Regions from separate parts of the Homo sapiens genome. Here regions 1 and 2 are each linked to region 3. Evidence: promoter capture Hi-C in human tissues and cell types (Jung and others, 2019). All regions are on one chromosome and are shown on one strand. Each heading gives the region's core, a stretch centred on a gene start or on the middle of the fragment in contact. The rest is flanking DNA. Distances are from core to core; before and after follow the strand shown.

Region 1 (4,093 bases), core at 899-3,398, 530 kb before region 3:
ACCAAAAACTCCTGGGTCTGGCCTCTGTCTTACCCTGTGGGTCAACAGCCTCCTAAGGCCTCCTTCCCCAGTTGTGATAATCTGGCAAAATTCTTGCAGTATTGGCATCAGTAAGCTGCATCTTAAATAAAATCTTACATTTAAGACTTTGTTGAGAGCCCCCATTCTTCAGATATAGAGCTAGGAATGCTGGAAGTCATTTAGAGAAAATTGTCTCCTTTTACTCTCCTTTCCTCATCTCCTCCCACCTCCAGCAGTAGGTTACAGGTAAAATTAGGAGAGGAGTAAATGGAAAAAAATGGGAAGGTCTCCAGGAGGTGAATCATTGGCACCATTTATTATCAGGAATACTTGTCTGGAACCTATTTTTGGAAGCATTGGGATACCTAATCCTGGTTTGTCAGAACTGCAAAATATCTCCTTGCAGAGACCATCTAATTTTTTATTCAGAAAATATAGTCACTTTAGTCTCCAGCATTCTGCTGGGCATTATGAAGCTTACAAAAAGAGCATGCAGAAGGGATGGCCTCAGCTTTCAGGGAGTACATACTCTAGTTGCAAAGTCAGAAATGTGTACAACAGTGTTTATGTAAGAGCCTTAGTCTTCTTCGAAGCACCATCAGCATCATAAAAACACTTAACATGATAAATATTCCCGTATCCATTCTTCATTAATAACACCTAGAGCTTCTCAAGGACAAATGTATTTTTGAGGTGAAAGAAAAGGGATGATATAAAACTAAGGTGAAGAGATGTTAAGCTGCCTTAGGAGTAGAGACCGGGCTGATTTAGAAGTGACTTTATAAAAGGTAATCTTTAATATTCAAGTACTTTAGACATTAATGAGACTACCAAGGGGTAATGTTTAATAACTTACTACAGGTTAAATAGCCAATGATAACTTCTATGCAAACTTGAGCACAATTTGGGATAGTATGGTATGTTTTTAATGCGATTCCTAAGAAAGTGCTGAAGTCTTCCGTATGTATGGGTAATATTGTTGGCAACACAAGATACCATTTTTATGCGATAATGGCACTCCTACATGTAAAAATCCCAGAGAGTGAATCAGCCTTATGGAATGTGTTTCCTGTTTTCTATTTTGCCACAGTTTTCTTTCAGTAGACATGTAGCTTTGAAGGTGAGTATAATTAAACATTCCTTGGTATTGCATCTCTCATGCATATATGAGAAAATTTAGCGGCAAATTTCTTCTCTAAAGAATGTGCAAAACACTTTTGAATTGATCAGCTCTTCTAGTACTTTACTCTGAAACTTGGTTGTTCTGGCTCGTGTCTATTTTCAATACATTGTATGTAAATGATGATTTATTTTCTAAGTGAATTTATCTGACTGTCAGATGAAGCATTCTGCGTGGATGGAGGTGGAAGTTAGAGGAAGGTCACGAGAATATGTTCTGTGTGCCTTCACATTTGGTGCTTAGAGGTCTCTGGTTATTATTGTGCTTCCCTTCCATGCCCTTCTTAATTCTGGCTTTTATCCCAGCCATTGTGACAGCTGTTTGTAATTCTGTTGGCAGTTCATTTCTGGATGAATTACACATTGCTCTGTCTGCTTGTCATTGTTGTGGCCTCTTCAAGTTCCCATGTGATGGGAGAACAAAACAGTCTGGGCTCTGTAAAGGACTCGACTTTCTATTCAAATTGGAATTATTTTTAGAAAGCTTCTGTAGAATCTAAAGTTTCCTCAATCAGCAGGATTCATATAAAGCCATATGTTGGTGTGCTTTCCTCAGAAAAAGCCTTAGAAAAGTTCTTTTAGAATCTCACAGCTTGTGGGAGGCTGCATTCTGTGGGCAGGCCTGCCCCACGCACCTGGAGTCACGGCAAGGTTTCTGTGAGGTGCTGAGTGTGTGAGGTCTTCGGTGGTAATTTGCTCTTGAGGCACTAGACTCAACCAACAAGGGCCAAAACTATATTACAGTGAACTCTGTTAGCAGCCAAGTTGAGGATGCAGAGTGATCTGTTTAATCAATACTTTATCTGGATTGTCAGTTGTAAAAGGCTTAGAAATAATGCAACAAAATACTCAACTCTGAAATAACACCGAGTGTCATTTCACCTTTGTTTGATTCAGAAGGTCCTTTAGAATCTTTGTGTCCTGGGGGAGCTAGTTAATAAAGATTCCAGGTTTAGAATGTTTGATAAATTAGCCTTTATTCTAGTTAGGAAGGGAAATAGACAAGTGGAAATGCCATAAAGTCCTCCTGGCCCAAGAGGGAGATGAGAGGCCTAAGCAAAAATAAGGTATTTGCGGTTAGTGGCATTAGTATTACTCATCGCTCACCGCTATTAAGTACCCCATAAATATTTCACTTCTGGAGTGTAAGGTGGGTCAAAGTAGGACCTCTTCTTTACCTATATTGGACCCTCACCTATTAGCACCCTGTTCTGTAATATGCTTTGAGATATTTAATAATTCTATTGATTTGCAGCAAAGGCCCAGGGTTTTTAGGAAAGTTCTCCCAGAAATGGGCCTCACATTGGTCTGTCTAGCTCATGTAGCCCAGTTCACCCCAAACTGGACTGTCACTCAGAAACAGGTCAAGAGAACGTATCTGATTACACAGGATTTCATGTCCCAGTGGCCTGGAGGGCATAGCATGTGCCACAGGACTGATGTTCTGACTTGGTGCCCTGTCTCAGGGCCAGCTCTCATTTTAGGCTTCCAGGTTCATCCTTCAAAGGGTTGGAAACAGCATCACAATTTTTTTATCTTAGGAGATTTCTCACCCTTGACAAGCCCGCAGGACAAACAGACCTGACCTCCATGGCCCCTTGTCTCTCAGCCCTGGTTAAATGAATATTCACTCTGTGGAGCATCACACCAGGCATCGTGTAAAATTATAGAAGAAGGAGGTGCTGCACTCCTGGCCTTTGAGCATCTTATCAACTTACAGGAAAGACAAAACCAGCACACAACAAAATATATAAAAACTTAAATGTCAGCTGCATATATATATATATATATATAGTTATTTATAAATTCAATTGACATAGACTGGAAATACATATTTATGTATACATATATCTATATGTACATAAAGTTAAGGCATTTCTGAAATGACTGAAGTGACTAGAATTAGAAAAAGGTAGTTTTCTATTGGCTTAGTTTTAGTCCCCCAGAAGTGACCCTGAGACAAGGACTTGAGAGCAAGTAGTTTATTTGGGAGGTATAGCAAATGCCAGTAAGAAGAGAGGGAAAGAATGACAGGAAAAGTAAGGCAGACAACAAAGGGTATGATATGGAGCCAGCTATGACTGTGCACAGCTAGAGCTAAAGCCTATGAAAAAATTCTGGGAAATAATTTAGAACATTTGCCCTGGACTCCTATCAGTAACTGGTTGAGGACTCCTCTCAAGGTGAGTTAATACCCAGATATTCATAGATCACCATACCTGGACAGAATAGTTTCTCGAGAAACAAAACAAAACAAACCTCATGCAAAGAGATGCAGTTAATGGCAGTTTCAAGGCTGGTCTTTGTAAGACCTGAGGGATACAGTAAGGGACCAACATTCTCTGCTACATTCACACATATTAGTGAGAAAAATGGTTTGGAAAGGAGAAAGGGATTTTGAACATTTAGGAAGCCAGTGTCTATAAAGACCCAAAAGTAATGATAGATAACATTCAAACCAGTACAAAAAGCATCCTTATGCAAGTTCCTCAAAGGAGTATGCCTCAAGTGGCATAGGGAAAAAGATCTGGGAGACCAGTTGAACCAGACAGAAAACGAGGAGCAACTTGGGGTACAAGGATTCAGATTGTGATGGCTGCCCTAAGTTAGGATTCCCTGTGATCCACTAGACATGTTTCAGCTGCAAACCATACTGGGAATAGTGGGTAGTTTAGCCACATTGTGGATTATGAAGCATCTACTTTATCTGTGGCATGAAGTCCTGACACATCACAGGAAACATTTCAGAAGAATGAGAGCTGGGTGCTATTGGAGATGCAATGGGTCAGCATGTCCTTCCTTCAACTCACCTAGGTCAAAGAGGTGGGCAGTTGCCAACAAGCACTGGAGGTTTTATACTAGGTCTCCTGTATTTTTAAAGGATAAGACTGAC
Region 2 (3,875 bases), core at 217-2,716, 610 kb after region 3:
ATAAAGCAAATTATTTCCATAGGACCGTGGAGGAGAGGCAGTTGTGTTCTGATGAGGAATTGGGAAGGCTTCTTGCTAGTGCAGTGACATGAGCTTTTCCTCTTGGAGAGGTGCCACATCCTAGCTAAATGACATATTTTGTGATCCTATGGAATCCTGTAACAGTAAACTAAGCCATAGGGCTTTTTTAGTATCTTAAGCAAGTATGTGTCTGAGTTGTAGCTAGTAGGTTAAATTGTGTAAAGAGTTAAACGGTCTGTATCTCATAACCTTCACATTAATACAGAAACATGACACTGAAATAAAGGCCCCCGAAGTTAGCTTGATTGTTAGCTAAGGAAGAACAAACAGTTCATAACTACACCATGGTGAATCTGTGCTGTTTGCATTTAGGCAGTAGAAAATGTCAGTTCTGTCATCTGCCTGAATCTATCCAAGTTATCACTTAAAAATTAGATCAATATCACTTTTCTCTAGGACTCTGAAGGGTAGAGAGAAGAAGCATCTGTGTCACAACAGAAAAGTAAAAATCGTAGTACTTTTTACTGTAGGCTAACTTACAAGAATAAAAATGTCCATTCTCTTAGAGCTATGTGGTAAAACTCTAATTTGTTTTTACTATTGCCCTATTGCTCTTTTAGCAATCCAATATGAAATTCCATCCCTTTGAAAGATGAGCAGGGGAGGTGGGAAATATTCCCTCCCATATTCAAAATCTCATCTTTCCTGTGCCCTTTTCATTGGGAGTTGCTGTATAAAAGCCTCTTGGATTGTTTTTATTTGAATAAAATATATTCTTGGGGGAGACGTGAAAAAGAATGTTTTCTATAGCATTGGTTTGCTGGCTGCTTTATGTGGGCATTTGGTATTAAGCAATATGGAAACCTTATCTTATTACACTAGGAAAGGAATCTAATGTGAAGGATACGTTGGTATTACAATAAAAATGACCAATACCTTATTAATCTTGTACTATTGTTTTACCCTGAGGATAGTATTTATGGTTCCAGCCCTAACAATATTGCCTGTGGACATGAAACACAAGCCAGTGCTGTTTATTTCAATATGTAAATAGGATTTGCTTTTTGTACAGTAAAAAAAATTAAACCCTGGGGTTATTGATATATTAATGTTATTTTTATTGTCAGTGAAATAAGATTTTACCATATTACTACTGACCGCCAAATCCCCTGAAGATGACTTTTCTGCAGGCAAAATAATGTCCTATTAGTGACCTAGATTTGCATTTTCTGGATTTCTGGAGGACGGTTGCCTTTAATGCCAAAGAACCAAGTGATTCTTTGCATTTCTTGAAAATACTAAGTGTTTCAAAGGCTAGCTTAGACTTCCGTGGATCACACTTAGTTAACGTCTCTTAGCCACTTTGCATTTAATATTTTGTTCATGTGAAAGAAACCCCAGAAGTAACTAGCTCATGTGCTTCAGCAAGGTGTCTCAATCTTCATGCTACTACCGTTCAGGACTCGATAATGTTTGTATAGGAGCTGTTCTATGCATTGTAGCATGTTTAGCAGCATCCCAGGCCTTTATCCACTAGATGCCGGTAGCTCCCCCCTCTCCTCCAGTTGCGATAACAAAAAATGTCTCCAGACATTGCCAAATGTCTGCTGGAGAGCAAAATCACCTGTGGCTTAGAACCACTGGGTTCAGTGTAAAAGAGGCACTTGGTATATACATAATGCTGTGAATCTTGGTGAAGAAGTAAACTTTTTTAACAGGAAAATAACTTGTTAAGCAACTCATTCCCATTTTCTGTAACAACATTTGCAAGGCATAATGCATAATGCATATATTACCAAATACAAAAAACATAAATTCATATGTTTAGAATTACCTTATTTTGTTATTCTGCCTAGAAAGTTCCCCAGTAGCATGACATCTCTGCTTGAAGTATGTATGTATGTATGTATGTATGTATGTATGTATGTATGTATTTATTTATTTATTTATTTATTTTTAATGTGATGCCTGTGTGAAAATGTTTTCAAACCCTGACCATGGCAGGGACTGAAAAAAAGCTAAGAGATTTGGAAACACATTCTGCAGTTCCCTCCTTGGAGTCTGGCCTTGTGTATTTTCTTTAGATAGGTACCTCTAAGCCTCAGATGCAACAGTAGCCTCTCCTGTCATGGTTTAAGCAGGGGTTTCCTGTAAATTCATCTGGTGTATGTTTGGACTTGAGAAGAGCTTATTTCAGAATACCAGAATTAGGAGATCAAGACGGTATGCCGATTCTGTTCTTCCCAGAACATTTTCAGTTCTAAATGACTCTCTGACTTGAGTGGCAGTATTGGAATTTGCTGGGAAGTATGAAATGTAATTCTTGTTTGATGGATAGGATTAGAGCAGATAGGACAAAAATGCATTAAATTTTCCCCCAAGGGTTCCTTTTGCTAGTATCCGTTTACTTGGCTGCTTTCTTTATGTTTCTGTTCTCTGTTTTCCCCATAGAATTTCCTGTAAACTTTGCCTGTCAATCCAATCTTTATTGCTTTCATTTTTAATACTCCAATTGGCGCATTTTACAAAGTCGACCAGCCACGCTAAAATGTAATGTGTGGTTTGCTTTGTCTGTATAAGAGGCTGAACCTGGATTTCTACCAGAAGTTAAACCACTGCATGGCATATGAGGAAGACTGTTTATTGAGTGGCCTTGGGTGCCTCACGTGTCATTATGAGCCCCAAATACTGTTCACTGCCTTACAAATAAGATCTGTCAAATATAAGACCTAGAAGGAATTTTCAAATGCAAACCTTGATTTTTCATAGAAAAGGACTGTCTTTTTTCTAGTTTCTAATGCCCCTGCATGCTTAGAAATTTGGTATATTATTTAAGCTTCCACTTAGCATTTAATATGTGATATTGGACCATCTTCTCTGGGCTCTCATTCCTCAGCTTCCTACCTCTTTCAGGGACCCTTCTCCTATGGTCCTGCCACCCTGGTATTGATCTTCCTGTATGGTAATCACTACTGAATTCCATAAGCTGCTCTGCATTTATTCATTCATTCATTCAACATAGAGTTATCAAGTATCTACTATCTCCCAGGCTCTGTTCTAGGCAACAATACTGATATACACTCAACCCCCTTGGAGCTGACATTCTAGAATGAGAAATGTCAATAAATACATTGTATTCGTCAGTTCAGGCTGCCATAACAAAGTGGCTTGATTGATTTGGTGGCTTAAACACAAAAATTTATCTTTCCTCAGTTCTGAATGGTAGAAATTCAAGATCAATGTAGCCGATTCTGGTAAAGGCTCTCTTCCCCTGATTGTAGATGGCTGCCATCTTTTTCATTTGTTTGTTTGTTTGTTTGTTTTTTGAGAAAAGGTCTCACTCTTGCCCAGGCTGGAGTGCAGTAGCACATTCATGGCTCACTGTAGCCTCAATCTCCTGGACTTAAATGATCTTCCCACTTCACCTCCCAAGTAGAAGGGAATACAGACATGCACCACCATGCCCAGCTAATTTTTGTATTTTTGTAGAGATGGGGTCTCACCATGTTGTTCAGACTGGTCTCAAACTCCTGGGGCTACCATCTTGTTATGTCCTTATATGGCCTTTCCTCAGTGTGTGCGTGTGAGAGAGCCTGAGTGAGCTGTCTGAAGTATCTTCTTAAAAGAACACTAATCCTATTTCATTAAGGCCCCACGCTTATGTCCTCATTTAACCCCAATTACTTCCTTAGACACCCCATCTCCAAAGACAACCACAGTAGGGGTTAGAGCTTCAGCAGGTAAATTTAGGGGGTCACAAACATTCAGTCCATAACATATAAAAATAATTTTTTAAATTACCACTTCAGATAGTGATAAGAGAACTATACAAATATATCAAGAGAAAAGGATAG
Region 3 (4,145 bases), core at 1,571-4,070:
AGGTTTATATGATCTGGCCCAAGGGTACCTCCCTAACCCCATTTTATGGTCTTTCCTCACTTGCTTCATTTCAGCCTCTGTGCCGGATCTTGCACATTCCAAAGACACAGTCCCACTGCAGGCCGTTCTGTACTTACTGTTCCCTGTGACTGGGATGTTTTTCCCCCATGTGCAGGCTGGCATTTGTTAAGCAGATCCAACATGGTACAAGGTGTTTTAAAAGCTTCATGTGTTTATCTGGGTTGGTTTTCTAAATAACTGTATGAAGTGAATAGTGATATTTGATGGATGAAGAAACTGAGGGAGATGAATGAAGAAGGGGCAGGATTGGAACCCAGGCAGTCTGGATGGGATCCAAGGCATTAACACGAAGTATTCTCACAGTGCACAATACCCAGAGAATGGTTCACACCCTTGCTTTGACCTTAGGAAAGCATTTTCCAAGGCTCTTCCTTGGAGAGCATTTTCCTATCTTGTTTAAAGTAGAATCTCTGTGACTTTGTTTCTCTTTACTCTGTTTCATATTTCCTTACAGCGCTTTGTATTTCCTGACATTATACTGCATATTTACTTCTTTATCCCTTTGTTTGTCCCCCCTTCCCCACTAAATATAAACTCGATGAAAGAAGGACCTTGTTCTGATTCATGTGCCTCTATATCCTGCACCCAGGTCAATTCTTGACCTGTAACAGGGACTGAAATGTACTGAAAGAGGGATGTAAGTCAGGTTGAAAAATTATTAATTATGTCTAACATTTTATTCTTCAGACATTTACTGAACACCCATTTTGTGCTCAACTCTATGCAAGTTTTTGGAAATATAAAGGCAAGTGAGAACAATGTGACCTCCTGCCCCCCTAGAGTTTAGAACATCATGGAAGAAACAAACAATAAGCAGGCAAATACATGTAGAATAAGCCTTCTATGAGGGCAAATATAAAGTGCAGCAGAGAAGGAAGGGTTTAGAGAAAGCTACTGTGAGGAGGTGATATCCATACTGAGACCTGAAGGACAGGCTGAAGGGTAAAAGAGGTGGAGATGGACTTGGGAGAGCACTCCAGGAAGAGGGAATGACAGAAGCCTCTGAGAGCATGTTCCTGTCCTGAAAGTAGCTCAGAGTGACTCCGGTATAGGATGTGAGGGGCAGAGTTGAAAGTCCGAGACTAGAGTAGAAAGCCAGGGCCAGACAGCTCGTCAAGTGTCCTGAAACCTATTCCAAAGAGTCAGGACTTTATTGTTTGAGAAACGTGACACCACTGGAGGATTTTTAAATCAGTGTCATTTTTAGTGTCTGATTCAGTGTACTGCCTTCAGCCAGGAGAGTTGGCAGTATTTCTATTTTATAGATGGGACAACTGAGGCCCCAAATAATACATTTAAGAGATAGGTGGGGTTGATTTAATATTCTCAATCACCATGTTGTCAGGGCCTCCTAACTCTTACCCTCTCACCCTCCATCCTTCCTTCCTTCTGATTGTTATTCTTGTCAAAAGTAAAACATAAAACTATTTACCTGCCATCCTTATTTTTATCCAAGGAACACGTATGCACTCACACAGCTTCCAGAAACCAGTTCCCCTCGGTGGAAGCCAGTTGCTTTAGGGGTGGTGCGGCTTGTATGTGGATGGACACCATGTGTGCACTGAGCCCAAATTCTCTGTTCTTCTTGACTAGGAAGCTGGATTTGTACCAGGGACCTTTTATCTAAATAGGAGACTCTGGGCTCAGGAGAACAGAGCCGACTTGACAAAGTAGAAAAGAGCTCAGTATTGGTCTGCCCACGCTTTGGGCATGCGTGAGCACTCGCAGCAAAACACAGCTGGCACATCTAATTTTAGCCTCGCCCGCCTTGAAAAGGGACCCTTTAAGGAAATATATTTTATCTGAAACAATTTGTATTATAATGTAGCAGCTGATAGACATGACAGAATATTATCATTGGTGGGAAAAAACTCTGCCAAGCAATTATGATTTTTGTTCTTTTTTTTTTAGATGATATCAGTAAAGTGATTAAAGCATCAATGCAACAAAATAATCATAAAGAGAGAGACAATGGGAGAAACAGATTTTATCTGTAAAATATCTGACGAACCTAAGGGGTCACTTCCTTTGATTTTTTTTTTTTTTTTTTTTACAAAATGGATGTATTTTAAAAAAGTTATTATTTTTGATATGTTCAGTTGATCAGTCCAATCTGATGACATGTGGCATTAATAGTAGTCCTGGAGTAGACCCTAAAATTTCTTCAATACTTAACATCCACCAAGTTTTCCAGGTAGTAAAAGGTTAGTTTCTCAATCAGCTCTTGGATGCGTCTGGCTCTAGCGTGTTAACAGATTTTGAAAGCATCCGGGACTTACTTTTTTCCCCTTTAACCAGCAAGGTTAGTTCCCCTGCCTTTATTTCTTTTCCTTTCTCCTCCTTCCTTCTTTCGTCCTCTCTTCCCTCTCTTCTGTGTTTTGTTTAGCAGTGTGGCTTACCTTGGAACTTGGCAAAAAGAGGAACAAAAAGCAGCTCTTGTGTGGGGTAGATGGAGGAGGGATAAGAAATAATCCACCGCCCGCATTTGAGTTCTTCAGGTTCAGTTCCAGCGGCAGCAGCGTTGCTGCAAAAATCGCTTGCTATTCGAGATAGCCAGCAGAGGGAATCGGAACTTTGCTTGCAGCAGGGGTTGAAGCAGCCTTTTTTTTTTTTTTTCTTGGAGGAAATACTGCAGCCTTCTGGACTGCGTACGCTGCTCCCTGGAGAGGCTCTCTCGGTTCCACCCACCGGCTGGAAGGAGGGGAAGTGAATGAAAGGACAGGACAAGCCCCGAACACCATGTCACTCTGGGAGGGAGACAGCAGCAACTAAGCTGTACAAGGTTTTTTTTTTTTTTTTTTCTTCCTTTTTTTCTTTTTTTTTTTCTTTTTCCCCTTTCTTTTTCTTTCTTTCTTTCTTTTTCTTTCTTTCTTTCTCTTTCTCTCTCTCTTTTTTCTTTTTCTTTAAGGTGGGGAAAGAGACAACCAAGAGACAGGAAGCTGATCTGCAAGGATTCGGAGTTGTGCTAAAAGGACTTTGATTTTTTTCCCCCTTTACGAACGCTGGCAATTGACATCACTACAGACAGCCTGGTTAGAGAACAAACTGCCTCATCCCAAGTGGACCCCGGCAGCTGGGGGAAGCCAGGCAAGATCTGGGAAGGCTGTGTGTGGGTGTTTTTTCTACAGATCTCACTCCTCGCCCTTTTTTTTTTTCCTTTGGTGTGTGTTTTTTGTTTTGTTTTGTTTTTTAAAAAAATTCTTGCTGTGTTGGAACTAGCGAGTGGTGGAGTCTCTGAAGCCTCATCAGTCACCGGGACTGTCAGGAATAGTGGTTTAAGAGGAAGCTCGGCCTGGGGCACTATACCCTGTCATCCAGTTCCCTGCCTCGGAGATAAAGATTCCAGCTACATGGGCAAACGCCTGGATCAGCCACAAATGTACCCCCAGTACACTTACTACTATCCTCATTATCTCCAAACCAAGGTATGGCTTGACCCACGGTCTGGCGATCAGCGTGGTATCGTTCTGCACTTGGGATGGGAAACAGACAGGCGTGTGAATTATTAGTTAACCCCCACCCCCATCACTTCTTCCTGCTTCTTTGAAATTAGTGACATACCAATGGAGTTAATGAGGCAGAGGAAGACATAAGAAGAAAGCAGCAAACCCGGAATTGTAGCTTTCTCTTTAAGGAGAGATAATAGTTTCACTTGAGTTCAGTTTCTTTGTTGTTATTTGGCAGCATAAATGGTCCTGATATCAGGAACGTCTTTTGCAGATGGGCACGGTTTTTAGAAAGCAGATCACAACAGTGATTACCAGGCACAAGAATATAATTTCAGGGGCTTTTCTGGTGAGCTGTTCTTTGATTGTGGCTCTAAAAGGGTTTTTCCCACTGGATAGGACGTGCAACGGTGGGGGTAACTCAAACTTTTAATCGCAGGGTATAGAATGAAAGAAGGGTGTGAGAAGGTATAGGGCTCCTACCAGAGTCTCTGAGAGTTTATTTTTATTTTTAATTTGCCTTGCCTATTTTATTTTATGTTGAGGATGATCAGCATGCTACAGACTGCTTTACAATAGATGTTCTTTACTTTTAGAAGATCTATTTTTCTGTGTAGC

What was found. The method cuts DNA at HindIII sites, captures the fragments that hold promoters and counts their contacts. A contact is called where the count stands out against the background at its distance.
Region 1: a fragment that was not itself captured here is called in contact with the fragment with the promoter of RBMS3 in region 3 in 1 of the 25 tissues and cell types used here (spleen).
Region 2: a fragment that was not itself captured here is called in contact with the fragment with the promoter of RBMS3 in region 3 in 3 of the 25 tissues and cell types used here (H1 embryonic stem cells, dorsolateral prefrontal cortex and heart right ventricle).

Annotation. Positions count from the first base shown.
Region 1 is chr3:28,744,570-28,748,662 of GRCh38, forward strand. All of the region lies in intron 2 of LINC00693 (long intergenic non-protein coding RNA 693), which reads left to right. Among named protein-coding and RNA genes, the nearest start is that of LINC00693, 170 kb to the left of the region's middle. The HindIII fragment of the contact is 4,833 bases long and covers 1-4,093 here.
Region 2 is chr3:29,890,892-29,894,766 of GRCh38, forward strand. The region is part of intron 8 of RBMS3 (RNA binding motif single stranded interacting protein 3); the gene reads left to right. Among named protein-coding and RNA genes, the nearest start is that of RBMS3-AS1, 41 kb to the right of the region's middle. The HindIII fragment of the contact is 5,217 bases long and covers 1-3,875 here.
Region 3 is chr3:29,278,251-29,282,395 of GRCh38, forward strand. It overlaps RBMS3 (RNA binding motif single stranded interacting protein 3), which reads left to right and starts at 2,821. Exons shown (of 15, transcript NM_001003793.3): 1 at 2,821-3,506. The coding sequence starts at 3,432. RBMS3-AS3 (RBMS3 antisense RNA 3) reads right to left here and starts at 2,689. Exons shown (of 3, transcript NR_109804.1): 1 at 2,481-2,689. RefSeq lists an enhancer at 1,676-1,725. The HindIII fragment of the contact is 9,133 bases long and covers 1-4,145 here.